5 separate regions of the Homo sapiens genome follow, and all the other regions are linked to region 1. The links are contacts of gene promoters, found by promoter capture Hi-C in blood cells and fetal thymus (Javierre and others, 2016). All regions are on one chromosome and are shown on one strand. Each heading gives the region's core, a stretch centred on a gene start or on the middle of the fragment in contact. The rest is flanking DNA. Distances are from core to core; before and after follow the strand shown.

Evidence for each region. Contacts are between HindIII fragments. The CHiCAGO score rates a contact against its expected background, and 5 or more counts as called.
Region 2: a contact is called between a fragment that was not itself captured here and the fragment with the promoter of BLOC1S5 in region 1, in 1 of 17 cell types (naive CD8 T cells). The highest score is 7.6, in naive CD8 T cells.
Region 3: a fragment that was not itself captured here is called in contact with the fragment with the promoter of BLOC1S5 in region 1 in 4 of 17 cell types (activated CD4 T cells, naive CD4 T cells, total CD4 T cells and 1 more); the score reaches 8.2 in activated CD4 T cells.
Region 4: a contact is called between a fragment that was not itself captured here and the fragment with the promoter of BLOC1S5 in region 1, in 2 of 17 cell types (activated CD4 T cells and total CD4 T cells). The highest score is 6.7, in activated CD4 T cells.
Region 5: a fragment that was not itself captured here is called in contact with the fragment with the promoter of BLOC1S5 in region 1 in 5 of 17 cell types (naive CD4 T cells, total CD4 T cells, naive CD8 T cells and 2 more); the score reaches 9.0 in naive CD4 T cells.

Annotation. Positions count from the first base shown.
Region 1 is chr6:8,061,321-8,066,643 of GRCh38, reverse strand. BLOC1S5 (biogenesis of lysosomal organelles complex 1 subunit 5) reads left to right here and starts at 2,255. Exons shown (of 5, transcript NM_201280.3): 1 at 2,255-2,379; 2 at 4,028-4,110. The coding sequence starts at 2,268. BLOC1S5-TXNDC5 (BLOC1S5-TXNDC5 readthrough (NMD candidate)) reads left to right here and starts at 2,230. Exons shown (of 13, transcript NR_037616.1): 1 at 2,230-2,379; 2 at 4,028-4,110. It overlaps EEF1E1-BLOC1S5 (EEF1E1-BLOC1S5 readthrough (NMD candidate)), which reads left to right. Exons shown (of 7, transcript NR_037618.1): 4 at 4,028-4,110. RefSeq lists enhancers at 672-821, 832-931, 2,622-2,811, 2,421-3,047. The HindIII fragment of the contact is 8,031 bases long and covers 1,138-5,323 here.
Region 2 is chr6:11,532,905-11,538,227 of GRCh38, reverse strand. TMEM170B (transmembrane protein 170B) reads right to left here and starts at 479. Exons shown (of 3, transcript NM_001100829.3): 1 at 1-479. RefSeq lists silencers at 1-155, 186-1,015 and an enhancer at 1-186. The HindIII fragment of the contact is 342 bases long and covers 2,663-3,004 here.
Region 3 is chr6:4,778,517-4,783,839 of GRCh38, reverse strand. All of the region lies in intron 1 of CDYL (chromodomain Y like), which reads right to left. Among named protein-coding and RNA genes, the nearest start is that of CDYL, 4.8 kb to the right of the region's middle. The HindIII fragment of the contact is 531 bases long and covers 2,725-3,255 here.
Region 4 is chr6:4,992,410-4,997,732 of GRCh38, reverse strand. It overlaps RPP40 (ribonuclease P/MRP subunit p40), which reads left to right. Exons shown (of 8, transcript NM_006638.4): 6 at 1,313-1,511; 7 at 1,648-1,782; 8 at 2,457-3,016. The coding sequence ends at 2,655. Among named protein-coding and RNA genes, the nearest start is that of LYRM4-AS1, 8.7 kb to the left of the region's middle. The HindIII fragment of the contact is 635 bases long and covers 1,718-2,352 here.
Region 5 is chr6:11,094,395-11,099,717 of GRCh38, reverse strand. The region is part of intron 1 of SMIM13 (small integral membrane protein 13); the gene reads right to left. Among named protein-coding and RNA genes, the nearest start is that of SMIM13, 3.2 kb to the right of the region's middle. RefSeq lists a silencer at 3,258-3,337 and enhancers at 5,195-5,314, 5,195-5,323. The HindIII fragment of the contact is 4,078 bases long and covers 1-4,017 here.

The DNA.
Region 1 (5,323 bases), core at 1,006-3,505:
GGGAAAGGATAAGAGTCCCATTTTAGCCTCAAAACTCTTGAGATTTCATGGGTCAAAGACCAAGGACACACTCATAGCAGCTGAATGTGCCAGGCGAAATGGCACTGCCAATGTTGCTTCTCAGTCTCCTAGCTGTCTGAGCCGCAGTGTAAAGATTTATATAAAAGCGGAGAGAGAACAGAGGCATATGCTGGACCTCACCATCCCAGAGAACAATACAACTTAATAGTGTATAATCAAATGGCTAGAACACATATTCACAGGCTACAAGCAACAGACTTGCAGAAAAGTAATTGTGTACTTATTCAGTGTTGGCTCCCCTGCAGGCTGCATGAGGAAAGGAAAAGGCTGCATTAGTCTTGTTCACCACTGTGTCTTAGCTCCTAGCACTATGCTGGGCACGTAGCAGCTGCTCAATAACGTATTTGTTAAATGTTTTTGAATGAAAAAATGAAAAGCCCATGTGGCCTGTTAAAGTTAATATGGCTTCTCTCTCCCTTCTCTCCAAATCTCCCTTCCCCACTCTCTCTTCACCCACCACCTATGCTTAAACACATACACAGAGACACAGAGGCAGTTGTTTCTGCCACATACAAGTCAGGCAGTCATTTAACCTCTCTGTGCCTCAGCCTCCTCGTCTGTAAATGAGGACATTAATAATAACTACTTCAAAGGCCGGCCATGAGGATTAAATGAATGCAAATTTGTAGACCACTTACAGTATTACCTGGCATGTAGCAAGTGCCATGTAAGTGTTTGTTAAACTGCAGTGCTATCCGAAGTTAGCACAGACTTCAGAGGTCAAAGCATGGTCCTCCTCAAGACTCCCCTTCAGACACCTGCCACAAGCTTTGGGGTTCCCAGGCCACCTGCACTTCTGACCAGCTGTCTCTGTCATATGCCCAGGGCCTGAGCACTGTCTGCTAGGGTGCCTCAGTTCTCACCCACGCAGCTTCTCTCTACACATGATGTTTCATTGCTATTCGCTTTACTCCCTCAGGTTTCACAGAATGACTCATAGAACTCAAGAAAGTGCTTTCCTTGCTATTACAGTTTTATTATAAAGGACACATATCAGGACCAGCCAAATGAAGAGATGTATAGGGCGAGATGTGGGAGATTTCCCAAATAGAAGCTTACGTGTCCTCAGGAACGCTTCCCCCTCCTGACACTTTGATGAATGATTATCGACCAGTAAGCTCACCTGAGCTTCCACATCCAGAGTACTCACTGGGGTTCCATTATGTAGGCATAGTTGGTTAAATCACTGGCCACATGGCTGAACTCAGTCTCCAGCCCCAATCTGCTCCCCAGAGGTGGGCCTGCTTATGTGACTCAAAGCCTAAGCCCTCATGGTTGGCCGGCCCTTCTGGTGTGGCCAGCCTCCATTCTGAAATCATCTTGGGCCCTCCATGAGCCATCTCATTAGCATAAACTCAGGTGTATTTCCAGAGGCCCACCATGAATAACAAAGACACTTCTATCACTTGGGAAATTCTAAGGATTGAGGGTACCTCCCAGGAACCAGAGTCAAAGTCCAGTCAAATTCTTTATTATACAACGTGAGTTTACTGACTTGAACAGAAAGAGGGAGCAAGAGAAGCATTCTAGGAAACAGGTGTCTAAAAAGAAAGGCAGGAATAGTCAGCCACACTCATGGCATAGTAGGGAAACAGCCCCCAGCTAATTGGCTTTGCTATACAGTAGTCCCCCCTTATCTGAGGTTTCACTTTCTGTGGTTTCATTACCCGCAGGACGGTACAATAAGATATTTTGGGAGAGAGACTACATTCACATAACTTTTATTAAATTGTTCTAATTGTTCATCTCTTACTGTGCCTAATTTATAAACTTTATCATATGTATATACAGGAAAAAACATAGTATATACATGGTTCAGTACTATATGCAGTTTCAGGAATCTACTGGGGGTCTTGGAATGTATTCTCAGCAGATATGGGAGGACAACTGTACTGGAATGCACCAGCTTTGAGCCAAATAACCAGGGCTCTGAGTTTAGCTCCAAAGTTCAAGCACCTTCCTATTCTAGCAGCATCCGCCCTGATCCAGCATGGCGGCAAGAGCTTCTGCCAGTTCACAGCCTGACTACACGGCAGGCGCCTTTCCGGAACCGCCCGCTGGGTAGATTAAATTTCTCCGGCGCCCTGTAATGACACACACACAAAAAAAACCCGGGCGCGCCTTGTAAGAGGGCGGCCGGGTTTGCGCAGGCGCAGCGTGGCCGCGGGTGGGCGGAACTGGTCGGGATGAGTGGCGGAGGGACAGAGACCCCTGTGGGTTGTGAGGCCGCCCCGGGCGGTGGCAGCAAGAAGAGGGACTCCCTGGGGACTGCGGGCTCAGCGCACCTCATTATCAAGGGTACGGAGTGTCAGGGCTATAGTTCCTGGTGGATCCCAGCACAGCCTCATCTCCCAGGCGGCGCCCTCTGACCCGGGCCGACCCCCGGGTCCCGGGCTGGCGCGCGTGCGTTTGTGCGGGTGGGGGAGTCGTGGTCGGTCCCCGCCTTTTTCCCCGCGCCAAATGCGTCCCACCACAACCAACCAGCCCAACTCTTCGTGTTTCCCCGCTTTCCTCTGTCGCAGCCTGAGCCATCAGGCCCGCCCCCGTCCATTCCGCAAGCTCAGGACCCCTGGGCGCAGAGCCTTTGGGCAGCCTCGCCACCGACGTGTAGTGGAAAGGGCATTGGACCTGGGAGGCGGGAGGCAGTCGCTTAGGAGTTGAGTGACTTCGGGTCACTGGCTTTACTCACTCTCCTACCCGATCTGTTCCTGGTCGTGCGAGGAGTAAGTGAGATACACTTACGAAGGCGCTCTATAGCACTGTAAAGAACCATTCACGTTCAGAAATGTCCATGTGTTCTGTGTGCTTTGAGCTGGGAGAAGGTTACAACCTAGATTCTCACAGAATCTGCTTTAGGTTTGACTCCTAAAGCTCACAACGCTGTTTGCTGCGTGAAAGTCTTTGACAGTTGAGTTGTAGTGCTTTATATATACCAGATATAAAGTGCTTATATACAGTGCTTGTATTATTTTTTCTACTTGACATGCTTAAGAAGATATGTACTAATAAAATTCATTAAAATAGAGAATTGAAACCTGCCCATCGTATGTCTGCAAAAATGAAAAATTTGGGGAACATTGCCAGTGAATGAATATGAATAATACATTGTCTTAGATTTAATTTCTCAAGGAATTTTGAGACTTACATTTTAAACTACATAGTTGTAACTAAGAAGAATAATAAACTGACTCACCAAAAGACTTAAATTCAGACCTTTTCTTAATGACTTTTTCAGACTTATGAAAAAGAGACTTACAATGAACATTCACCACCCACCTTAATAAATAAATTACTAAAAGCCCCACTGTGTCTTGCTCTAATTGCACTAGTTCCCCTCCCTCGTCTCAAGGTAGCCACTATCCAGAATTTGGTGTTTATTATTCTTGTGCATTTCTTTATAGTTTTGTTGCTTCTGTCTATATCCCAAAAGGAAATATTTTGAATATTTTAAAGTTTTATGTAAATTGCTTTAATCCTTCTGAAACTTGCTTTTTTATTATATTTATTATAAAATACGTATTATTTTTTATATTTATGTTGATAAGTGTAACTCTGATGTATTTATTTTTACTTGGTGATTGATAGAATTCCATTGTATGAGTATGGTTAAGGTGTTTTGCGTTTTTTCTTTTGATATTACACCTATGCTGTAATAAATATGTATAAATGGCCTTACTCATTTGTGCAAGAGTTTTCCAGGGTACATACCTAGGCATGAAAATGCTAGGTATACATGTCTGCAACTTTATTGAATACTGAAAGATTGTTCTCAAAAGTAGTTGTATCAGTGTACACATCCACTGGCAGTGGATGAGATTTCTTCTTAGTCCATAGTCTAAACTGGATTTTAACCTTCATCTCTTAGTGGGGAAGGGAGAGAGTAAAACAAGCTAGAGATTATGCCATTTAGCATGGATTAACCCTGAATTTCATTTTATCTTTATAGATCTTGGAGAAATTCATTCAAGGCTTTTGGATCACAGACCAGTTATTCAAGGTGAAACTCGTTATTTTGTAAAAGAATTTGAAGTGAGTATTTAAACTTATTTTATAAAAGTACTTCCCTAATTGTTAGTGTGTTATTATACAGAAGAGAAATTCCCCAGTTTTAAAATCGGATTTTAGTTCATGTGTTCATAAAATATACAAAGTAAAAATGATGAAGACGTAAAAATTGTTGTTTTTAATGGGATAAGTTCCATACTAAACAGCAGGATACATAAGTTCTGGTGCCTGCTCTAGGGTATTTAATGTCTGTTGATCTGAGGTTTTTTTAATCTATAAAATGAGATATAGTGGGGGAAAAAAAGGGATTTTAGAGATTGATGGGTCTGAGTTTTTCAGACTCATTTTCTGTAATTTTTTCCTCAATTGAGACATCACCAATTATGCAAGCAGTCAAATTAAAACTTAAGGATTATCCTTGGCTATTTCCTTTCTTACAGGTTCCACATTCAGTGACCCCATCTTTTAGACGTTACCTAGATGTTTACCTCATAAATGTCGATTCTTTCTGACAGGTTTGCCTGCTTTATCAACGAAGTCAAATCCAGTTTTCACCCTGCTGCCAGAGGAATCTAACATTATTTCACTTTTTAAAACCTTTGATACTATTTCTGTCCACAGGATAAAGTCCAAGCATTGTTCTGTGACCTGGCTCCTGCTTTTCTAGCATAACCACCTGCTACTCTACCTTACATACTATGTTCCAGCGACAGTGATGCATGAACATGCCATCTTGTTTCCTATTACTGTAGTTTTGTACATGTATAATTGGTTTATTGTGCTTTAAGCAGTAACTTCTCAAACTGCTGTTGGGATGGTAAATGGTGTTGCACAAACAATTTTGTGATTCTGTGTAAGTTTCAGATTTTTGCAAATGATACTGACCAGTCAGGATGTGCAAACATGCCAAAAGGAGAGTACCTTTTAATAAACCCAGTTGAGGGCTTATTAAAGATAGAGGCCCAGAGCTGTTGCATTAGATAAGCATTTCTGGGTGCAAAAGATGCTGTGACTCATAAACTGCATCATACTTCCCAGGATCTGTGCATTTTAGAATATTGTCTGGGACCTAGGAATTAACTAGGTACATAGCCAAGTTAATTATACATGTTAAGTAACATGTGTAATTGGTTCAGTTAACATGTTAATTAGCGTGTGTAATTGGTTTAGTTAACATCTTAACGTGTATAATAGGTTCATTGTTCGTTAAGCAGTAAGTTCCCACAATCTGATTATA
Region 2 (5,323 bases), core at 1,584-4,083, 3.5 Mb before region 1:
GCGGCTGCGAGGCTCGGGGGGCGGCGGCGGGTGCGCGGCTCCTCCAGGCCGCCGCCGCTGGTGGAGGCTGCGGGACGCCGGGCCGGGCGCTGCTGCTGCTGCAGCCGGAGGGCCTCCGTGGGGGGGCCGCTCAGCGTGTCTCCCAGGCAGCCCCCTCCCCGCCGGGGAGACATTGAGGACGGCGGACGGAGGAAGGAGGGGAGGGGGCCGGGCGCCGTCCTCGCGCGGCCCCCGAGCGAGGACTCGGGGCGGAGGAGGCCGCCGCCGCTCCCTCTCAGGGGCAGCGCCGCGCCGCGGGGACTGGACACGCGAGGAGGCCGAGGTCACGCCAGGAGGCCGGTGCTGATGGGCAGCCGGCAGGTGCAGCCCCCGACAGGGCCCAGCTCATCGCCGCCGGAGGACGGAGACGCGGGACCAGCCAGAGGCTGCGGCGGCACCTGCCGCCCGCCTGCCCGCCCTCGGGTCGCCGACACTCGAGGAACCGCCCCCTCCACCCGCAGCCGCCGGCGGGCCACTCGTGCACGCGCACGCGCGCGCCTCTCAGCGCCGGCCCCTCCTCCCCTGCGCTCCCCGGAGCCGCTGCGCATGCTCACTCCCCCGCTCCCCGCGACCCGCCGCCCTCCAACAGCCGGTCGGCCCCAAAGCCCTCCTTCTCGCTCTCCCCTCGCGCTGCAGCGCGCGTGGCTGACGGCGCCGAGCGACGGCCCGCAGTGGGGCGGAGGGAAGCGCGGTCTACGTCACTGGCGCCACCGCCGGGCCTTACTGCTGATTGGGCGCTCCAAGGGAACCGCCTCCACGCCCCCCACCCCCGGACCCCGGGCGCGCGCCCTGAGAGACCGGGAGACCTGGATCCCTCGCCCTGGCCCGGCTGGGTGCGCGCGGTGCGGGCGGCGTGGGCGGTGCGGGCATTTCGGGGGCCCGCGCTGCAGGGGCAGCCCTGACCCAAGGTGGGGCTGCTGAACTCGGTGAGGTGGATACTGTGACAGTTCAGATTTTTGCCTTAAAATGTAATGCTTTTTGATAAAGATGCTTATGTATAACTTTTTTAAAAAGGTGTCACTATCTCAGCATTTAGATATATTAATTTGCGGGGTTTTTTTTCTGAGCCTGAATCGAATGACCTGGATAGGTCACTTACTTGCAGAATGCATGTTAAAACCCCTAAAACACAAACAGACCTGCGTTATCATTCTGCTAATCCCTCTTCCCGCAGCAAGAACTTGGGCCTCCCGGGGTTCCAGGACCTGCCTGACATTACCTGTTTACTCCAGGCTCGGCAGGTGTCCTAATCCTCAAGGCCATCGCCGGCTCTAGCCCCCCTTTTTTTGATGGTAGTATTCTTTTATCTAAGTTGCGTCTGTTATTTTTTTCCCTCGAACTTAAACTAGATCTCTCTCCCCACGCTTTGCTGTCTGTCTTCATGTCCAGCGTTAGCCAGAGGAGCATCTAAAATCCAACTACAAGTTAAACTCCTCGAAATTGGAAACCTTCTAACTTTAAAAAATAAAAATTTAAGTTTTAGCAGTAACATAAATATGCAGTAGCCAGCCCCTCCCCCCACCTTTTTTCAACCCCTCTGCCATCTGGATAAAGAAAAATTTACAAAGAGAAGTGAAGAAATACCTGCTGTAGCTAAATCATGAAGTATATTTGACAAAGCACTGAAGGGTCAAATTACCTGTCAAATGGTGCTCTTGGTGACCACTTTAAAATAATATTTACATACACATTTATTTCTTTGTTTATTTGTATTTTCTTTTTGATGTCACAACATAAGAGAAATTTTTGCACCATTAATAGGAATTGAGCCAAAACTCTTAATGTAGAGTTTATCTTCCTCCTAGAATTTAGACTTAATTAGATCTATTAACAAGATTACAGAATATCAAACCTAAAAGAGCGCTTTAACATTTTTCTAATTTTATTTTACAGATAGGGAAACAGATTCTGTGAATTAAGTGACTTGACAGAGATGACAGCACTTCACAGCTCAGTTTCTGAATTCCTGGTCTATTATTCTTTCTAGCAACCACATTATCTTTCTTAACCCACTGTTAACTCCCTCACTTTAAGATTCTTGATGGGGAAGTGCAGGTTACCTAATGATATTCTTAAGGGACTTGGCATTACATAATTAGTGATGTTAGGGAATGTGACCACATTCAGTGAAGGGTTCACAGCAAACTCCCTGAGCAGGGGCTCATTAAACTCTCATATCAGAAACCTTTAGTTAGTTTACGTTCTTAGGATTGCACACTATTATTTAAAACACAGTAGCACGCAGTGAAAATATTCAGAACCTGGGACAGTGCCTGGCACCTGCACCACAAATATTTGTTGAATGAATCACTGAATGATCTTCATAGAAAAGTCAGCATTGTTCTTGTTCTGAATAAATATTTTTTACAGAATCCAAGTGTTCATGTCAGGAAATGAGAAAGACACAGCAATGAAGTCTCAAGTCAGTAATGTTATTTGCTGCCCAACAACTTCACCCCTGCTGTTCAGTTCAATTTAATTGGCGTCTATATTTATTTGGCATCTACTATCTGTAATGTTCTGTGCAAGGTGTTATCTGTAACATTTGAAGATAAGATCTCTACTCTCTAGGCTACTTAGGTTTTCCTTGATAAAAGTAATGATCTTGACTGTGTTGGAAGCTTATATCCTTAAGAGAATTAGACATTTTCCCAACAGCCAGAGTTATGAAACCCAAAACTGAGTTAATACAAATGAAAGTTTTGGAATTTCTTTCCTACAGATTTTTTATTTTGAATTAATACACCAATTCAGGAAGAGTTTAGTCACGTTCCTGTCAGAAATCAGGGACCACCCCAAGTGAATCCAAAAATTTCCTTTCAACTCTGTGCCCTTCAGCATGAAACAATTCACAAACGTAATTCATAAACCAAAATTCCTGGTTTATTTCTCTCATGTAAGTGAGGGAACACCCATTAGCCTTAGTCATTTTTAAAACTGTCCAGAGACAACCTAGAGGAAAGCTTTTTAAAATCAATTAAAATATAAAATGATATTGATCTTTTGAGAAAAACATTTTCAGGTATCTTTTCAGAAGCACCCCACTCTACTGGTATCAACTTAACGTATTAGTCCATTTTCACGCTGCAGATAAAGACATACCCAAAACTGGGCAATTTATAAAGGAAGAGGTTTAATTGGACTTACAGTTCCATGTGACTGGGGAAGCCTCACAATCATGGTGGAAGGCAAGGAGGAGCAAGTCCCGTCTTACATGGGTGGCAGCAGGCAACGAGAGAATGAGGAAGACGCAAAAGTGGAGACCCTTGATAAAACCATACAGAGCCAAATTATATCATTCCTCCCCTGGTCCCTGCCAACTCTCATGTCCTCACATTTCAAAATCAATCATGCCTTCCCAACAGTTCCCCAAGGTCTTAACTCATTTCAGCATCAACTCAATAGTCCACAGTCCAAAGTCTCATCTGAAACAAGGCTAGTCCCTTCCGCCTATAAGCCTGTAAAATCAAAAGCAAGTTAGTTACTTCCTAGATACAATGGGGGTACACGCATTGGATAAATACAGCCATTCCGAATGGGAGACATTGGCCACAACAAAGGAGCTACAGGCCCCATGCAAGTCCAAAATCTAGACTGATTCAGCTTGATTCAGCTCAGTCCAGCTCCACAGGTCTTCTCATTTCATACCTGAGGCTGAGGAAGATGTCACGCTCTGAGTACATGCCATTCTCATGGTATAGGGCTGGAACCAGGGCTACAATGGGACACTGGCCTTGCCTGCAAAGCCTTGCCTGCAAGTCTTGACAACAGACTCTGAAACACTCTGTTATCAAGATAAATAATATACTAATATAATATTTTTAAAAATAAAAATTCATGCAAAAATCCATGATTAATGAAATACCAAAATTTTAAATAAACACAGAATCTCACCCTGCACTTGCAAGACCTTGTCTCACCCACCTCATCCTTATCCCAGCTCTGGCATGGACAAGAGAGGCAGGGCTAAACTACACAGGTGCATTTAAAGTTCATGCTCAGATATGGGGTCCATGTCACATGCATGTCACATATCCACATTCCCTTGTTTGAAGCAGATTGCATAGTTAAGCCCCTAAGTGAATGGGATAAAAAAGTATATTCTGCCTACAGAGAAGGATGGAAAGAATGAATGGGAGGGGGCAACAAATGGTAATGAACAAATAATGCAGTCTTAACACAGGCTGAGTGAGGTTAAGTCTTCTACAAATAATATATTTCAGCCTATATTTCTGTGTACTTTTTGTAGTTTGCGCTTTACGAATTTTGATTCTATGTGTTTTAGTGAACACATATGTATGTAAGATTTGTGATTTTGCTTTCTTAAATTAAAAATATATTAATTTCCATTATAAAATGCTTTTAAAATTTATGTGAATCTTGTCTGATGTTAAGGTCTTAAGTCCTGCTTTCTGTTTGCATTTGCCTGATATGTATTTTTCCATTCTTTTTCAACTTTGAATAATTTTGTTTTAGGAGTTTGACATCGTATTCCAATATGAAATTTCTAATTTAATAGAAGAACTTCTAGATAATTTCTAGTCGTTGATATAATAAATATGTGGTATTACTTGCATCATAGTTATATTATTATTTCTATTTTTGTTGCTTCTTTTAAAAAAGTATTTCATGGGTATGGTTTGTGTTTCCTTTGCTTTGTTTATGTTCCTTATAATTTGAAAGGATTGGTTTTGTTTTTGTATTTTATAGTAATCTCTGTGACCATAACTGATATACACTTCATCCTCTGTTTAGAATGTATCTAGTGACCATCCACTCTCAGCAATCCTAAAATCATATAACTCCACTTCCTTATAACCTCCTTTTCCTCCCCTTCTCCATCAGATTTAAGAGTATATATTTTTTTCTATTTCTTACTTCTACAGCTAAACTACCTAAGTTTTAATCCTGATTTTATTGCTTTACCAGGAGTGAACATTCAACATTCAGTGAGTTACTTAACCTCTGTAACTTTCAGTTTTCTCCTCTGTAAAATTTGAACTATAATATTCTATTATATGTATAATATATCTGTTATTCATTATAGATAGTATATATTTAATTATAATATTTCCTTGAGATATTCTGAGGATCAAAGTACTTAGTAATTAAGTGCTTAGAGTGGAGTCTGGAGCAGTAAATACTCAATGAATACTAGTTTTTATTACTGTAATATTTAAATATTAATAGATTTTTTAGAACTGTATGGAAATGGCAATCTTCTAAATAATTATTTATTTTAAAGAACAAGCAGAAAGAAATTGTGAAGGATTTTCTTGATGGG
Region 3 (5,323 bases), core at 1,741-4,240, 3.3 Mb after region 1:
ACAAAATACATTGTCGTATTAAACAAGAGGAAACCAAAGTCAAAGAGATGATCTCAAGAACAACCAGAGACAGAAGACAGATCTCCTATAAAGTGACTGCACCTATGCTGACAACAGTCTTGGCCAGGTGCAGTGTGGCTCACACCTGTAATCCAAGCACTCTGGGAGGCTGAGGCGGGTGGATCACTTGATGTCAGGAGTTCGAGACTAGCCTGACCAACATGGTGAAACCCCATCTCTACTAAAAATACAAAAAATAGCCAGGCATGGTGGTGCATGCCCATAATCCCAGCTACTTGAAAGGCTGAGGCAGGAGAATCACTTGAACCAGTGAGGCAGAGGCTACAGTAAGCCAAGATCATGCCACTGCACTCCAGCCTGGGCGACAAGAGTGAAACGCCACCTCAAAAAAAAAAAAAAAAGTCTCAAGAATAGTGCAAAGGCAAGGCAGAAGACAATGGAGCACCATCTTCAGAAGGAGCTGAAAGAAATTAACCAATTAACTGGTTTTATTTGAAATACTATTCTCTTTCAAAAAATGATGGCAAAATAAAGACATGTCCAGATAATAATAATTAAAAAAAAAAAACCTAGAAACTTTTCCATCCATAGTCCCTCACTAAAGAAATCTCTAAAGGATACACTTAAGAAAAAAAAAAATCCCAGAAGGAAGTTCTGAGATAGAAGATGGACGATCTGATTGAAGAAACTATGAAGTCAGAGGTGAATCTAAAGAAAGGTTGTATAAAATAATAATGTTCTATTTGATGAGGGATTTTTTCATGGGCAATAAGAAAGCAGTAGCATGTGAGTTCAGGAATGCACCAGGGTTCAAGGAATGTAAAATCTTTACATTGTCAGAAGTGCCATTAAATACTGACTATCTTTAGACATCATGTATGCATAGCTGCAAAATTAGCCACTTAAAGACTAGAAATAGCATACAACTTCTAAACCCAATCAGTGAGGTTTTAATATGGTTTTACTGTAATTTGTGGCAGAGGACAGTTCAACAAAAATAATGTCAAAGTGGTCCGTGGAGGGCAGCCACAGATAAGTCTTAGTTCAAAGGTCTCGATGCAGTTTTTAATACTTGCTTTGGGTCCTATATCCCTCTGAGAATCAGATGAAAGCTCTTGATTCTCTCCCTCTGAAATATGCTCATATGTACTTGTTTAAATTTTCATAAAATTCTATTTGAGGTTATAATTGGATTTAAAGTCATATCTAGACTCATAATAGGCCCTCCCCAGACTTCCTAGAGAACGTGAACCCCAAAACCTTGCCCAGCTTAAAAGGCTGAAGAGAATTAAGTTTGTGTGGGAAACAGTGAAATTCTCCATTCTAGAGTTGAAACCATGTAAGCAGATGAGGAACTAAGAGTAAAAAGAACAGCAAGAGGCATAATGCTTAGGGGAGGAGGAACCTCGAGGTAAGTAAGGAGTCAGGAATGGAGATTCATTCCTGTAATTCACTCTTCCATTAAAGTAACTCAACAATTATGCAACGATTGCAGTATTTTGAGCTGTGGAAAATAATGACCAGAAAATGAATCTGAGCTTTAAAGCACTTACATTCTGGTGGACAAACATGCCAGGCAATAAAGACAGAAAACAGAAATTACAACGCCCTTAGCTAACTACCTGATGTTTTTAATATTCCCTTCCTGGAATTACTCAGTTAACAACCAGCAGTGGTCAAGGAGCCTGCAGAAAGAACCAGTCTGGTCCACCGAGAGCTCCTCTTCCGCCAGGCAGATCCCCAACCCACCCCCACCCACCTCCACGCAGAGCCTAAGGGTCTGAAACACAGAAGGGCGTATCCAGAGGCTCCTAAATCCACCTGCATTCCAAAAAGAAGCTTCTCGGAACATAAGATTCCTGTCTCCATCCAAACATTGAAAATTATAATCTCGTGGTTTGGGTTCAAGAATCTGAATTGAAAAAAGACCCCAGGCTGGTCCTGTTCCACCTAGGAGTGCTCACAATATAAAAACTATCACTCCTTATTTACAAAAGAATTCATTTGAGGCCTGGCTTTGTGAATCACAGTTATCCAAAACTGTGAACCAGAACAATGCGAAGAAAGTGTTGCCTACATACCATGAAAATATTCTCCGTGGTTAAAATCATTATAGAGCACGAGGGAACAGTCTATGATTCTTAGATATCACAGCAAGAATGAAAAAAACGCTATTCTGGTACACAGGAATTGAAAGTAGTTCAAAGGAAGAGCACATGAGAGGTCTCCACACTGCTGCTGGGGCAAATGAATAAATAATATTCTCAGCAACTCACAGGAAAAAGAGCATTTAAGATAGGCTATTATTGTCAAAACACACATGCATGTTTGACCTCACTGCCTCACTATCAACTCCTGAAGTCAAATGAACTCTTTTTCTTTACTAATTTTGGTGATTCCAATCTTTTCAGACAGCTACACCATATACAACATACGCTGACCTAGCTTGGCCAACATCCATGAAAGGTGTCCTGGTCTCTGTGACTTCCATTTGAACTACAGATTGAGACTTTATTCACAACTGCTTTTGGTCAATGTAAGTAAAAGCCTTGTGGTGCACAGGAGAGAGCAGGAATCTTATCGCAAAGTAGGAAGAAAGATTCAAAAGACCTACCTTCCCCTGCAAATCCTGATCATCCTGTCAAACTAATCAACTTTAAAACAATTTTTTACACACCAGATACGATTTCATTCTTAAAAGCTTACTTCCATTTTTGAAAATGAAAACATAAATATTCTCTCAGAAGGTCAAGACTAATCATTGAGAGCTTACTGAAATTTGAATTAACTATTACAGGAGTTCTCAAGGGAATAACTCCACATCTACTGAGGAAAAAAGGAATTATTAAGACATACAAATAAAGAGAATACTTATTCCATTTTACTACAGCATACGTTCCTTATTCAGTCCCACGTGAACAAAGTCTCATGGTGGTTACTTGACTGCTAAATAAATTAAGGTCCTCTTGACCTCACAGCTTTCTCTGGTGATATAATCAGTTTATAGAATACTTTCAAATCCTAAATCTTGAGGAAGGGAAAACAGGTTTGGTTTCATGGTTTGAGAGTTGGATGGGTTTTTTTTCCTCTTTAAAAATGGAAAACGTTTTGTAGAATTGCTTTTACACGCTAATGCCATTTAAGCCTCAATTATTTGGTTATCATCCTCCTATTTTACTGATGAGAAAGTTTAGGATAGTTAAGACAAGTACAAGATGAGTTACTTAACAAGCTTCTAAGAACAAGGGAAGGCCGGGTGCAGTGACTCATGCCTGTAATCCCAGCACTTTGGGAGGCCAAGGTGGGCGGATCACTTGAGACCAGGAGTTTGAGACCAGCCTGGCCCACAAGGTGAAACCCTGTCTCTACTAAAAATACAAAACATTAGCCGGGGCGGGGGCGGGGGCGGGGGGGGGGGGGCGTAGGCGGGGGTGGTGCACGTCTGTAATCCCAGCCACTCAGGAGGCTGAGGCATGAGAATAGCTTTGAACCCGGGAGGCAGAGGTTGTAGTGAGCTGACAACATGAAGCCACTGCACATCAGCCTGGGAGATAGAGCAAGACTCTTGAAAAAAAAAAAGAGAAAGAAAGAAAGGAAAGGAAGGAGGAAAGGAGGGAGGATTACCACCCAGATCTTCCAGCTCTAAGTCTAGAGCTGGGATGAAAGTTAGAAATACCGTCTAACTTCCATACATCCCCAACCCTTGAGTAAACCCAGATTCCTAAACAGACTATGACAGTTGATCACCTACAGCAGGGCTTAACAAACAACAACCTACAGGGCAAAGCCAGCCCACTGCCTATTTTTGTGGAACCTACAAGTTAGGAATCATTTTTACATTTGTAAGTGATTGGAAAAAAAACACAAATGTGTATTTCATGACACATAAAATGATATGAAATATACTAAGTGAATTTTACTATCCATAAGCAGTTTGAGACACAGCGCACATTCATATAGGAGTCTACGACTGCTTTTGCACTACATGAGGTGAGCTGAGTGGTTGCAACAAAGACCATAATATAACCCACAAGTCTAAAATATGTATTATCTGGCCCTTTACATTAGAAGCGTGATGTAAAGGACGCTTGTCTTTTTGTGAAAACTATGAAGTTCTAACCTACGCCGCATCAAAAATCCGTTTTTCCTCAATCCTAGCAGCTGGAAAAGTAGGGAGTAAATCTATTCCATCCTTCAACTAATAGTAACTCTTCAAATTTTGCAAGGTTCATGCTCTACCCATCTTTTCCAGGATCTGTTCCTTTATTTTTTGTTCACAAAGCCTAGTTTCAATAGCCATTTAAACATTTACTAAAGACCTATTACTACATACCAGGTTCCATGCTAAGTATTGGAGACATTTCTTTTAGGCGAGAAAACCAAGGCTCAGCAGTTGGGTAACTCACCCAAGTTCCCAGTTACTGCAGACCTGTCCTCCTACCAGACCATGTGAGTTCAAAGAAGCAAGACTTCACATTTCCTCCTGTCAATATATCCCTCTAGATTTGTGGAGCCTGAGGCCAAACAGAAAACTTCTATTTCAGTTTAGGCAGAACTGGACAAAACAAGGCAACTAACAACCCTTGACTTGGCCACAAAACATCATCTTAGTGTCTTTCCCAGCCTTGTCAGACTATCGCGTTCATTTACAATTGCGTATCACTTCTGCCCTACAGATAATACTGCCTTTATGAAAACAATACAACTCTATACCTTTAGAAACAAAACCAGGTTTCAGGGAGGCATTTTAAGCCAGTTACCATACAATCATCATCACTTACTGGGTGCTTGCCATGGGAATTTTAGGGTGGGCTTTACATATGTTCTCATGTAAACTTCATAGCTCTATAAGGGAAACACTGATCCCAATTTCACAGATGAGGAAACTGAGCTTTCAAGGCTAATTTACCCAAGGTGATAGAGTTGGAAGTCACTAACTGGGTTGTCTGACTCCAAATCTAGGCTCTCAACTGCCATGCAAAACTTTCAATGTCAACTTTCAATGGTAACATAGTCACAGTGTTGCCTACAAGTAAAAGAAAAGTTACAAATTTTGCCTTGAAAGATACTGACCACTACATATTTACTACACATACTTAAATTTATCACCTGAACTATACTTCTATAATACCTTTTTTTCCAAAACTAAAATAAAACTCAGAATCAAAAGTTCAATTGTGCAGGTGTATCATTTATTTGCAATATACTTACTTCCTCCCCAACAGACACTCCTTGAAAGCATGAACCATTCTCACACCTCAGTATTTCCCCATGAAACCTCCATATGGCAAGCATTCAATAA
Region 4 (5,323 bases), core at 786-3,285, 3.1 Mb after region 1:
AGGAATGGTAGTAGCCAAAATGTATTAGTCAGGGTTCTCCAGAGAGAAAGGACCAATAGGATGGATGGATGGATGGATGGATGGATGAGAGGAGATTTATTAGGGAAATTGATCATGCAGTTATGGAGGCTGAGGAGTCCCACGACAGGCTGTCTGCAAGTGGGAGACCCAGGGATGCTGGTAGCCTGGCTCAGTCCAAATATGAAGGCCTGAGAATCAGGAAAGAAGATGGTATAATTCTCAGTCCAAGGCCAAAGCCTGACAACCTGTGGATCTGCTGGTGCAAGCCCCAGAGTCCAAAGGCTAGAGAACCTGGAGTTCTGCTGTCCAAGGGCAGGGGAAGAAGGGAGTCCCAGCTCCAAGGGACAGCGAATTCACTGTTCCTCTGACGTTTTGTTCTACCTGGGGCCCTAGCCGGGTAGATGGTGCCACCCACAGTGAGGGCAGATCTTCCCACTCAGTTTACCCACTCACCTGCCAGTCTCCTCCAGAAACACCCTCACAGACACACCTAGAAATAATGCTTTACCAGCCATCTAGATGACCCTTCATCCAGTCAGGTTGACACCTAAAATTAACCATCACACCGAATATCACCATTTGCACCAGTTCACCAAGTCCCATTTCCAGAGTGACACCAAGCGATGCTGGCACATGCAGTAGGTTGCATTACAGGAGAGGAACCTGGAGTTTAAGAACTCCAGTCCTTTGTAAGGGACAGTAAGCCTGCTGATATCTGCCCGGAGAGAGGGAGGGTGACATTATTTCTATTATACTGGACAGTAAGCAAGCCTGCCCTTTGCCGTGGAGGGAGTACTATCTCTGTCTTCCAAGGCCGTTGGCTACACAAACATCCCTGAAAAGATACGCTGGATTTTATTGGGTTTTCAAAGTCAAGCTGGGATGAGGTTCAATCACCATTCAGTTTCTCTTCTTTTTCTTTAATAGAGGTTGTGCAGATAAGCTCCTTCTCTCTGGAGTTCACTAATATTATTCATACATCAGGAATGCTTTTGGTTTTAAGTGTGAAGTTGAAATTTTTTTATTAGCACAAACAGTGAAACTAGTTTGGGTCTGATCAGAAACTGTTGTGCTTTTCCAGGAAAAGTGTGAAAAACGATGAACGTTTACAGAACTTGAGCAAAAGGAGCTGAAAGCAGCTTTAAATGATTTTAATTTGAATGCAGCTCTGCACAGCTTCCATCTTACTCAATCTTACCGCTCAGATGGGAATGGGTGGGTTCAGGTATTCACTAAACTTGCTTACGATGGTCAGATGGATTCAAATGGCCTTGTGTGGTGTGTTTTTAAGGTTCAGAAGAATCGACAATGATGTCATATTTTTCCAAGTACCAAATTCAGGAGCATCAGCCAAAAGTAGCACTGAGCACGTTGAGAGATCTCCAGTGCCCAGTGCTGCAGAGCAGCGAGCTGGAGGGAACGCCAGAGGTGTCCTGCCGGGCTCTGGAGCTCTTCGACTGGCTCGGCGCCGTCTTCAGTAATGTCGACCTGTGGGTATCTGAACTCCCTGTGTCTTCCAGGGCTCTGGCCTGCTGCTTGTTTTTAATAGGAGTTTAATACTTTGGAAGTGATCATGTGATGGATATACATGTGTTATCTCTCTCTCTTTTATTTTTTTGGTGACAGAAATAATGAGCCTAATAATTTCATATCAACCTATTGCTGTCCTGAGCCAAGCACAGTGGTGGCAAAAGCTTATTTGTGTACAATCACTGGCTTCATACTTCCAGAGAAGATCTGTCTCCTATTGGAACATCTCTGGTGAGAACTCTTTACCTTTTATATCGCTCATCAGTGCTCTATAGAACAGTATGTCGAATAGTATAGATTTTTTCATTTTGGGAGGTGGTATATAAATAAAATGTACATTGAAAGGAACTCAAATCGCCTATTGCAAAGACCGTACATTGAGTATAATCCTATTTAGTAAGCATATCTTCTCAGTCTTCCCTTTTGAAATGTCAGATTTAAGTCTTGAAGGTTTTCCTTTTTAAGCCCAACATCCTTTTTCACATTTATTGGTTTAGTACTTTGACTTTCTTCGATAGGAAGGCTGGATATGAAAAATCTGGTGAATTATCCTGCAACGTTTCAGTTAACTGAGACTCTGAGAACAGTACTCTTAATAGGAGGGAAAGGATCCTTAAACGCCTGTGGGGTTTTTTGTTTTGGGTTCTTTTTGTCTTAAAGACCTCCCAGAATGAGGGTGGGAACAGCTGAGGTTTGTTTCATGTGTTGTATATTAGTTAATCCTTATGGAGTTCACAGTGTGACATCAGGAACTTATCACACACCTCTTGATTTTCAAAAATTAAAGCTAAGATCTAAGCTTTATTAGAATATCAGAAATACTACTTATCCTGAATAAATTTTTTAAAATGCAGACATTCCTAACTCTCTTTTAAAACTCTGTTTAACAACTACCTTTTTTTCAGTCACTACTTTGATGAACCGAAGTTAGCTCCATGGGTTACACTGTCCGTTCAAGGCTTTGCAGACAGCCCTGTTTCTTGGGAAAAAAATGAACATGGTTTTCGAAAAGGAGGAGAACATTTATATAACTTTGTGATTTTTAATAATCAGGACTATTGGCTTCAGATGGCTGTTGGGGCAAATGATCACTGTCCACCATAAAAAATAAAAATTAAAAATCGTGTTTACTTACATTTACGCTTGCTTTCAGATTTCTTAATGGTAAAAGGTCTGTGTGTCCACTCAGGCTTGTGTGATGGTGACATTTCTCAGATCAGCATTTGCTGGCATCCTGCCCTGCACCTGAGACCCATCTGTGATGGCAGCAAGGCCTGCTGTCCAGTGAATAGCTCATAGTTGATTTCTCTCTGTCAACATAAGCACAGGGTTGTGGGTTACTATGTGGTACACTGGGCCAGGATGTCCAGGGACCGGGGATATTGGTCCCCATCTCACTCCATTGGTTGAGATATATTTTGTTCATTACAACTTTTTCAGATAATAAAAAGAAATCTCATCCTTACCAGGGCCAGTCCCTGTTGTAAGTGCTGTTTATATATTACCATGTTAGAATCTCACACCAACCCTTTGAGGAAACTGAGGCACAGTGTGTAAATACACTACCGAAGTTATAGTGGCAGTGGACCTGAGACTTGATCTCAGGCCAGCCTAGTTCCTAAGTGTGTTCTCACGCTAATGCCTCTGGATCAGAGAGGGATCAATGGATACTGTAAATCGTTACAGAACAGGTTGAAAGAATTTTATTTCCAGCAGTAAGGCTGATAAGGACCAGTTGAAAACAACTAAAACTTTAGAATACATATGAAGAACCATTTTTTTTTTATTATACTTTAAGTTTTAGGGTACATGTGCACAACGTGCAGGTTAGTTACATATGTATACATGTGCCATGTTGGTGTGCTGCATCCATTAACTCATCATTTAACATTAGGTATATCTCCTAATGCTCTCCCTCCCCCCTCCCCCCACCCCACAACAGGCCCCGGTGTGTGATGTTCCCCTTCCTGTGTCCATGTGTTCTCATTGTTCAATTCCCACCTATGAGTGAAAACATGCGGTGTTTGGTTTTTTGTCTGAAGAACCATTTTTTTAATGTAAAAAACAAGAGCTGCAAAATAAGAGTTCTTAAAGGGAAAAAAAAATTTTTTTTTTTGTAAATGGAAGCAGAAACCCAAAGAAGTAAGTGGAGTACTGACGCCACTTTTCCGCCTTAGTGCATCTGCCAAATGCCAAATTGAAGTTTTCTTCTCATAGCCTGGGGTGGGAAGGGGCTGCAGAACAGCACACAAAGCTCAGGGCCTGCCCAAGGGAGGAAAACTAACAGGAGACCTCATAAAGTGAGACTCCAAAAGGATAGATGCAATGTAGGGGTAAACTAGGAATAAATCCATCTGCTTCACCCATCCCCCCAACCCCTGTGAACAGCAAGGAAGATTTCTGTCCTGGGGGAAAACATCTTACTTGAGAGCCTATATATAACCACAGGATTTATATATAACAGCAGTTTTTAGGGTGGCTTGTTTGCACCACCTGGATAGTCTTAAAAAATCTCAAGAGGGAAATTTCAAGTGATAACAGGATTTTACTGCCTTACAGGTAACTGGCAGAAGCAAAACAGATTGTCTTTGGAGGAACTCGGAGAGTTTCAAGGAATGTAAGTTCATAGAAAAAAATCACAAGTGTAAAATAGACAAGAACCAGCAGAAACAAGGGGCAGAAGCAGGCCGTTAAGTCTCAGAAAGACTTAAGATGTTAAAGTTAGCAAGCACATCCATAAAGTATGCTTTATGCTTACAGAAATAAGGAGGGTTAAATGGCATGAGTATAAGAACAACGAAGCAGATTGTAAAAAGTGCCAAACAAATCTAGGAATGAAAAATATAATTGAAATTGCAAATTCCACTGGTTGGTTTAACAGCAGACTAGACGCCACTGAAAATAGAATAATGGATATGAAGAAATTAAGATCTTTTCAAATTTGCAAAAGCTGAAAGACTGTCACCCACAGGTCTGCACTGCAAGAAAAGTTAAAGGATGTCCTTTGGGCAGAAGGAAAATGCCTGCCTTCTGAAGGAAATAAGCACTGGAAATAGTAACAACATGGGTAAATGTAGCATTTATTATTTAAACCTCTTTAAAAGACAGTTATTTAAATAAAAGTCATAGTGTAGGATTTATAATATATGTAAGAGTAAAATGGATGACCACAATAGCTTGAAGATTAGGAGAGGAGAATCATGCTATTGTAAAGTTCTCATACACAAGGTGACGTGCTACCATTTGAAGATAGAGTGTGATAAGTTACAGATATGTGCTGTAAACCCTAAAGCAGCTGCTAAAATGACATACCAAAAAATCATACCTATTAAACTATCAAAAGATAAAATGGAATTATTTTAAAAACTTGATTCATCAAAAAGAAGACAGAAAAAGAGGTAAAAGGGAATAAAGAACAGTTAGGATGAATCGAAGACAAGTAGCAAGATGAGAGACTCAACCTAAGCATATCAATAATCACATTAAATGTGAATAGTGTGAACACCACCAATTAAAAGGCATAGATTTTCAGACTGGATTGAAAAAAACATGACCTAATTATATTCTGCCTACAAGAAATGTACTTTAAATAGAAAGATACAAATACTTAAAGGATGGAAAAAAGATATGCTAACACTAGTTACATGAAAATTGAAGTGGCTATATTAATCAAAATAGAGCAAAAAGTAATTCCCAGCATATTAGTCAATTCTCGCACTGCCATAAAGAAATATCTGAGACTGGGTAGCTTATAAAGAAAAGAGGTTTAATT
Region 5 (5,323 bases), core at 729-3,228, 3.0 Mb before region 1:
AACTCTTATCTGTTGTATTGAGATCTCCATTGGGCATATCAGGTGTTTCATTTGTAGGAGCTTGGGTATTCTGCAGCATTCATCTATTCATTTGTTGAACAAATGTTTATTGAGTGTCTACTATGTGCCAGACACTTCTGTAGGTGTCAGGGATATAGTAGTGAAGAAAACAAAATGCCTGCCCTCATTGGGCCTTACCCTCTAGTGTGGGAGACAGATGATGGACAAGTAAAACATGTAGTATGGGCCAGGCACGGTGGGTCACACCTGTAATCCCAGCACTTTGGGAGGCTGAGGCGGGTGGATCACGAGGTCAGGAGATTGAGACCATCCTGGCCAACATGGTGAAACCCCATCGCTACTAAAAATACAAAAACCAGCCGGGTGTGGTGGCGGGCGCCTATAATCTCAGCTACTCGGGAGGCTGAAGCAGAAGAATCCCTTGAACCCAGGAGGTGGAGGTTGCAGTGAGCCGAGATCGCGCCAATGTACTCCAGCCTGGCGACAGAGCTAGACTCCGTCTCAAAAAAAAAAAGTCTGATGCATTGAGCCTGGGTCTCAGGAGAGACATAAGAGTTAGAGAAACAAATTTTTGAGTCATTAGCTAGAGCAGACATTTAAATCTCTAGGACTGGATAGGAGACCTTGGGGAGTAAAAGAAAAGGGAAATGTATTTGCAGTATATTATAGAAACATAATAGAAAAAAATAGAATCTTCTCATACAGTAAGGGCAAGTAGGCAAGTACTAGTCCATAAACATTTTATTTCAGAGATCGATGATAAGTAAATAGATGTATTAATGGACTAACACATGTAATCTGTACACTTATGAACATATTAGGAATAATCTATTTTCTATTGTAGGTTGTGGTCAAAAAAAGAAAATTCTAGGGAATGAGAAGAAGCTAAGAAAAAATAATAGCCACTGTGGTAGGAAGAACATCATGGAAATACAGTATATAAAAGCCAAAGAAATGTTGAATGGACCCGGCATGGTGGCTCATGCCTGTAGTCCCAGCACCCTGGGAGCCCGGGGCAAGTGGATCACCTGAGGTCAGGAGTTCAAGACAAGCCTGGCCAACATGGTGAAACCCCGTCACTACTAAAAATACAAAAAATTAGCTGGGCATGGTGGCTGACACCTGTAATCTCAGCTACTCAGGAGGCTGAGGCAGGAGAATCACTTAGACCCAGGAGTAGAAGTTGCAGTGAACCAAGATTGCACCACTGTACTCCAGCCTGGGCAACAAGAGCAAAACTCCATCTCAAAAAAAGTAAATAAAAGAAACGTTAAATGTTTCTAGCAGACATCACTTAACTGTAAGGAATGAATATGACAATTTAAGCTCAGTTAGGACTAAGAAGCGACCACCACAGGCTGGGTAATATGGAGGCCATCTGTTACTGACTTTGACAACAGCAGCATCACTGAATAGTGGGGGTAGAAAACACCTTGGAATGAATGAGAGGTGAGAAAGCAGAGACAACCAATGTAGACAGAAGGGAAACCTGCCTAGGAATCTGAACTTTGGACATCAGAATTCACTAGGTGAAGGAGTCTGTCAGAGCTCTAGAGAAAACTACATAAATTCCTAGGGACAGGAACTGTGTTCCCAGTTCCTGGTAGACACTCAATATTCAGTTTGTTGAACTGAATGAAATAAGAAAACAGGAGACCCAGCCCAAAGAGCAGAGCCTCTTGATCTGAACTCCATGTTTGTATTCAAGGAAGAGGAGTCCATGAAATCTCAGAAATTGGGTGGGGGGGCGGCGAGCAGGGAGCAGATAAGTTATGTGGGTGAATTTTTCTTTTTTAAAAAAAAAGAAAGGTTCACAGCATTTACCAGACTCTCAAAAGGGCTTGTGACCGCTAGAAGGGTAAAAACAACTGTTTTATGGGCATACAGCTACTCCCTAGCTTTCAGCCAGTGCTAAAGACATGGTGCTTGTTATAGAGTGAATCGTGTGCCATCCAAATTCATATGTTGAAATCCTAACCCCCAGTGTGACTGTACGGTATTTGGAGATAAGGTTTTTTTTTTTTTTTTGAAACGGAGTTTCACTCTTGTCACCCAGGCTGGAGTGCTATGGTGCAATGTCGGCTCACTGCAACCTCCACCTACTGGGTTCAAGCAGTTCTCCTGCCTCAACCTCCTGAGCAGCTGGGATTACAAGCATGTGCCATCATGCCCGGCAAATTTTTGGTATTCTTTTTTTTTTTTTAGCACAGACGGGGATTCGCCATGTTGGCCAGGCTGGTCTCGAACTCCTGATCTCAGGTGATCTGCCTGCCTCTGCCTTCCAAAGGGCTGGGATTACAGGCATGGGCCGCCATGCCCGGCCTGCAGATAAAGATTTTTAAAGAGGTAATTAAGGTTAAATAAAGTCATAGGGTGAGGAGCCATAATCCAGCGACTGATGTCCTTATAAAGAGATTAGAACACACAAAGGAGAGACTATGTGAAGACATAAGGAGAAGACCACCATCTACAAGCCAAGGAGAGAAGCCTCAGGAGAAAATCAACCCTGCTGATCTCTGACTTTTAGCTTCCAGAGCTGTAAAAAAATAAATGCGTTTGGCTGGGCATGGGTGGCTCATGCCTGTAATCCCAGCACTTTGGGAGGTCGAGGTGGGCAGATCACCTGAGGTCGGGAGCTCGAGATCAGCCTGACCAACATGGAGAAACCGCATCTCTACTAAAAATACAAAATTAGCCAGGCACTGGGGACGGGCACTGTGGCTCACGCCTGTAATCCCAGCACTTTGGGAAGCCGAGGCGGGTGGATCACCTGAGGTTGGGAGTTCGAGACCAACCTGGCCAACATGGAGAAACCCCATCTCTATTAAAAACAGAAAATCAGCTAGGCGCATGCCTGTGATCCCAGCTACTCAGGAGGCTGAGGCAGAAGAATTGCTTGAACCCGGGTGGCAGAGGTTGCGGTGAGCCGAGATCACGCCATTGCACTCCAGCCTGGGCAACGAGAGTGAAACTCCAACTCAAAAAAAGAAAAAAGAAAAAAAAAAGCAAAACAAAGAAAAGAAATGAGTTGTTTAAGCCACCCACCAGTCTCTGGTATTTTGTCATGGCAGCCCTGGCAAACTAATATCGCACTCCAATTTCTCTCTTAAGTCTGGTCTGATCCTTGCCTCCTCTCCCCAAGTTCCCGCCCCATCCTAGTCAAAAGATGAGGCTACTCCATCATCAGTTCTCCCAACAACAACAAAAAAAGTATTGATCACTTCATCATAGAGCTTTTAGTTCTTGACTATTCCAAAAACTAAGGTGTCCTAGCACAGGGCTCTCCAGCCCTAGCACACAGATCCCTCCTCCCTGCAGGAGGCAAGTATTACCATCTGAGCTCCGCCTCCTGTCTGATCAGCGACATACCAGATTCTCATAGGAGCACAAACCCTATTGTGAAATGCACATAGGAGGGATCTAGGTTGCTCGCTCCTTATGAGAATCTAACTAATGCCTGATGATCTGAGCTGGAATAATTTTATCCCAAAACCATCCCTGCTCCGTCTGTGGAAAAATTGTTCTCCACAAAACAAGTCCCTGGTACCAAAAAGGTTGGGGACTGCTGTCCTAGCACACCTCATCTCTCTTATTCCTTAATGTTTCTGAAACTAAAAGCACTTTTAGAAAAATGTGTATAATTAAACCATCAAACAGCTGTTTAGAGATGAGAGAGCAATTTGGATTTCTGAAGCCATAAAGGTAAATTTGGCAAATATCCTAGTGAAGGTATGGTAGGGTCTACGTGTCACATTCATTCCCATGTCCAGGTAGCTCGCATTTTCAAACTAGAAAGGGTAATAAATGCTTTCCCTCCTTCCCCACATCCAAACATATCACAAGGATTTTGTTTTCCTTACTTCAAGAACCTTAAACATCTACAATTAGTTCAATATTCTAATATTCTTCTGCTTGTTGATATCACAAGCAGAAAATTGAGAAAGGTTATTCAATTGCTTTATCTCATCAGAAAAGAAAGGCTGTAAATTAGAAGCTTTAACCTGGTGTTACAGAAAAGCACAACAAATTTTAAACATACATACAAGGCCGGATGCAGTGACTCATGCCTGTAATCCCAGCACTTTGGGAGGCCAAGGCGGGTAGATCACATGAGGTCAGGAGTTCAAGACCAGCCTGACCAACACGGTTAAACCCCATCTCTACTAAAAATACAAAAATTAGCTGGGCATGGTGGCGGGCACCTGTAATCCCGGCTACAGCTACTCGAGAGTCTGAGGCAGGAGAATCACTTAAACCCAGGAGGCAGAGGTTGCAGTGGGCCAAGATCAGGCCACTGCATTGCACTCCTGCCTGGGCAACAAGAGCGAGACTCCATCTCAAAAAATAAAATAAACATATAAGTTTATAAATACATACACATGCATATGCACAAGTGCACACATATATTCCACAGCGTCACTAAGTATTAATTTGTACATTTATCGTGTAATGAACAAGCCCTATAGTATCTGTATGAATTCTGACCCATTATTACATCAACCTGAACCCATACTTCAGTCTTATAAATATGTGTAAACTCACTGACACGTGTTCTACGTACTTTTTAGATTTTCACAATTGCTTAGCCACTTTGCTAAGAGACCTGTGGTTATCAGCTACTATACATGTACAAAGAAATCAAAAAGATCTAAAATTGGGCTACCATTATTTGAAGAAAAAAGTTGAACGTCCTCTCATTCCAAGAAGGAAAATACGCACAGCATTCGAAATAGCACCATTATTATAGAACTGAGAGTTAGGTTACCCGACCCTGCAAGTTTAATATAGCCGGTGTTTCTAAGCTCTGCCTGGTCTCCACATCTCTGCTTGGAATTGAGTTTAAGGCTGAACTCTAAGTAAACAATTTCACGCGTGCTGAAAACCCAACTCTACCCCACTCGCTGATGAAACGAAGGTGACACCTCTCATTATTAAGGTCAGAATCTGTGCAAATGAAAAAGGACCAATCAATCACTTCACCTTCGAATGCAGGCCAAGGTTACAATCTGGGCAGCCTGTGGTGAGAATGAAAGAGCAGACGCTGCCGGTGAAGCAAGGCTGAGTTTCACTCAGAGGCAGGAAGCCCTGGAGCCTGTCCTTTCCCTCCCCAGGATGCCCGAGGGCCGGCCATGAGTAAAGGGCCCACCTCTGCGCTCAGCCCTAGAGGCTAAGGGACAACAGTTGATTTTAAGACAATTGTCCGTCCACGCCCTTTTGTTTTTTTCAAAAAAACAAACAACAAAAAAAACCCCAGCAGATCAGCGACCCGGCGTGTGGAACTGCCTCGCGGCTACCGCCCCCA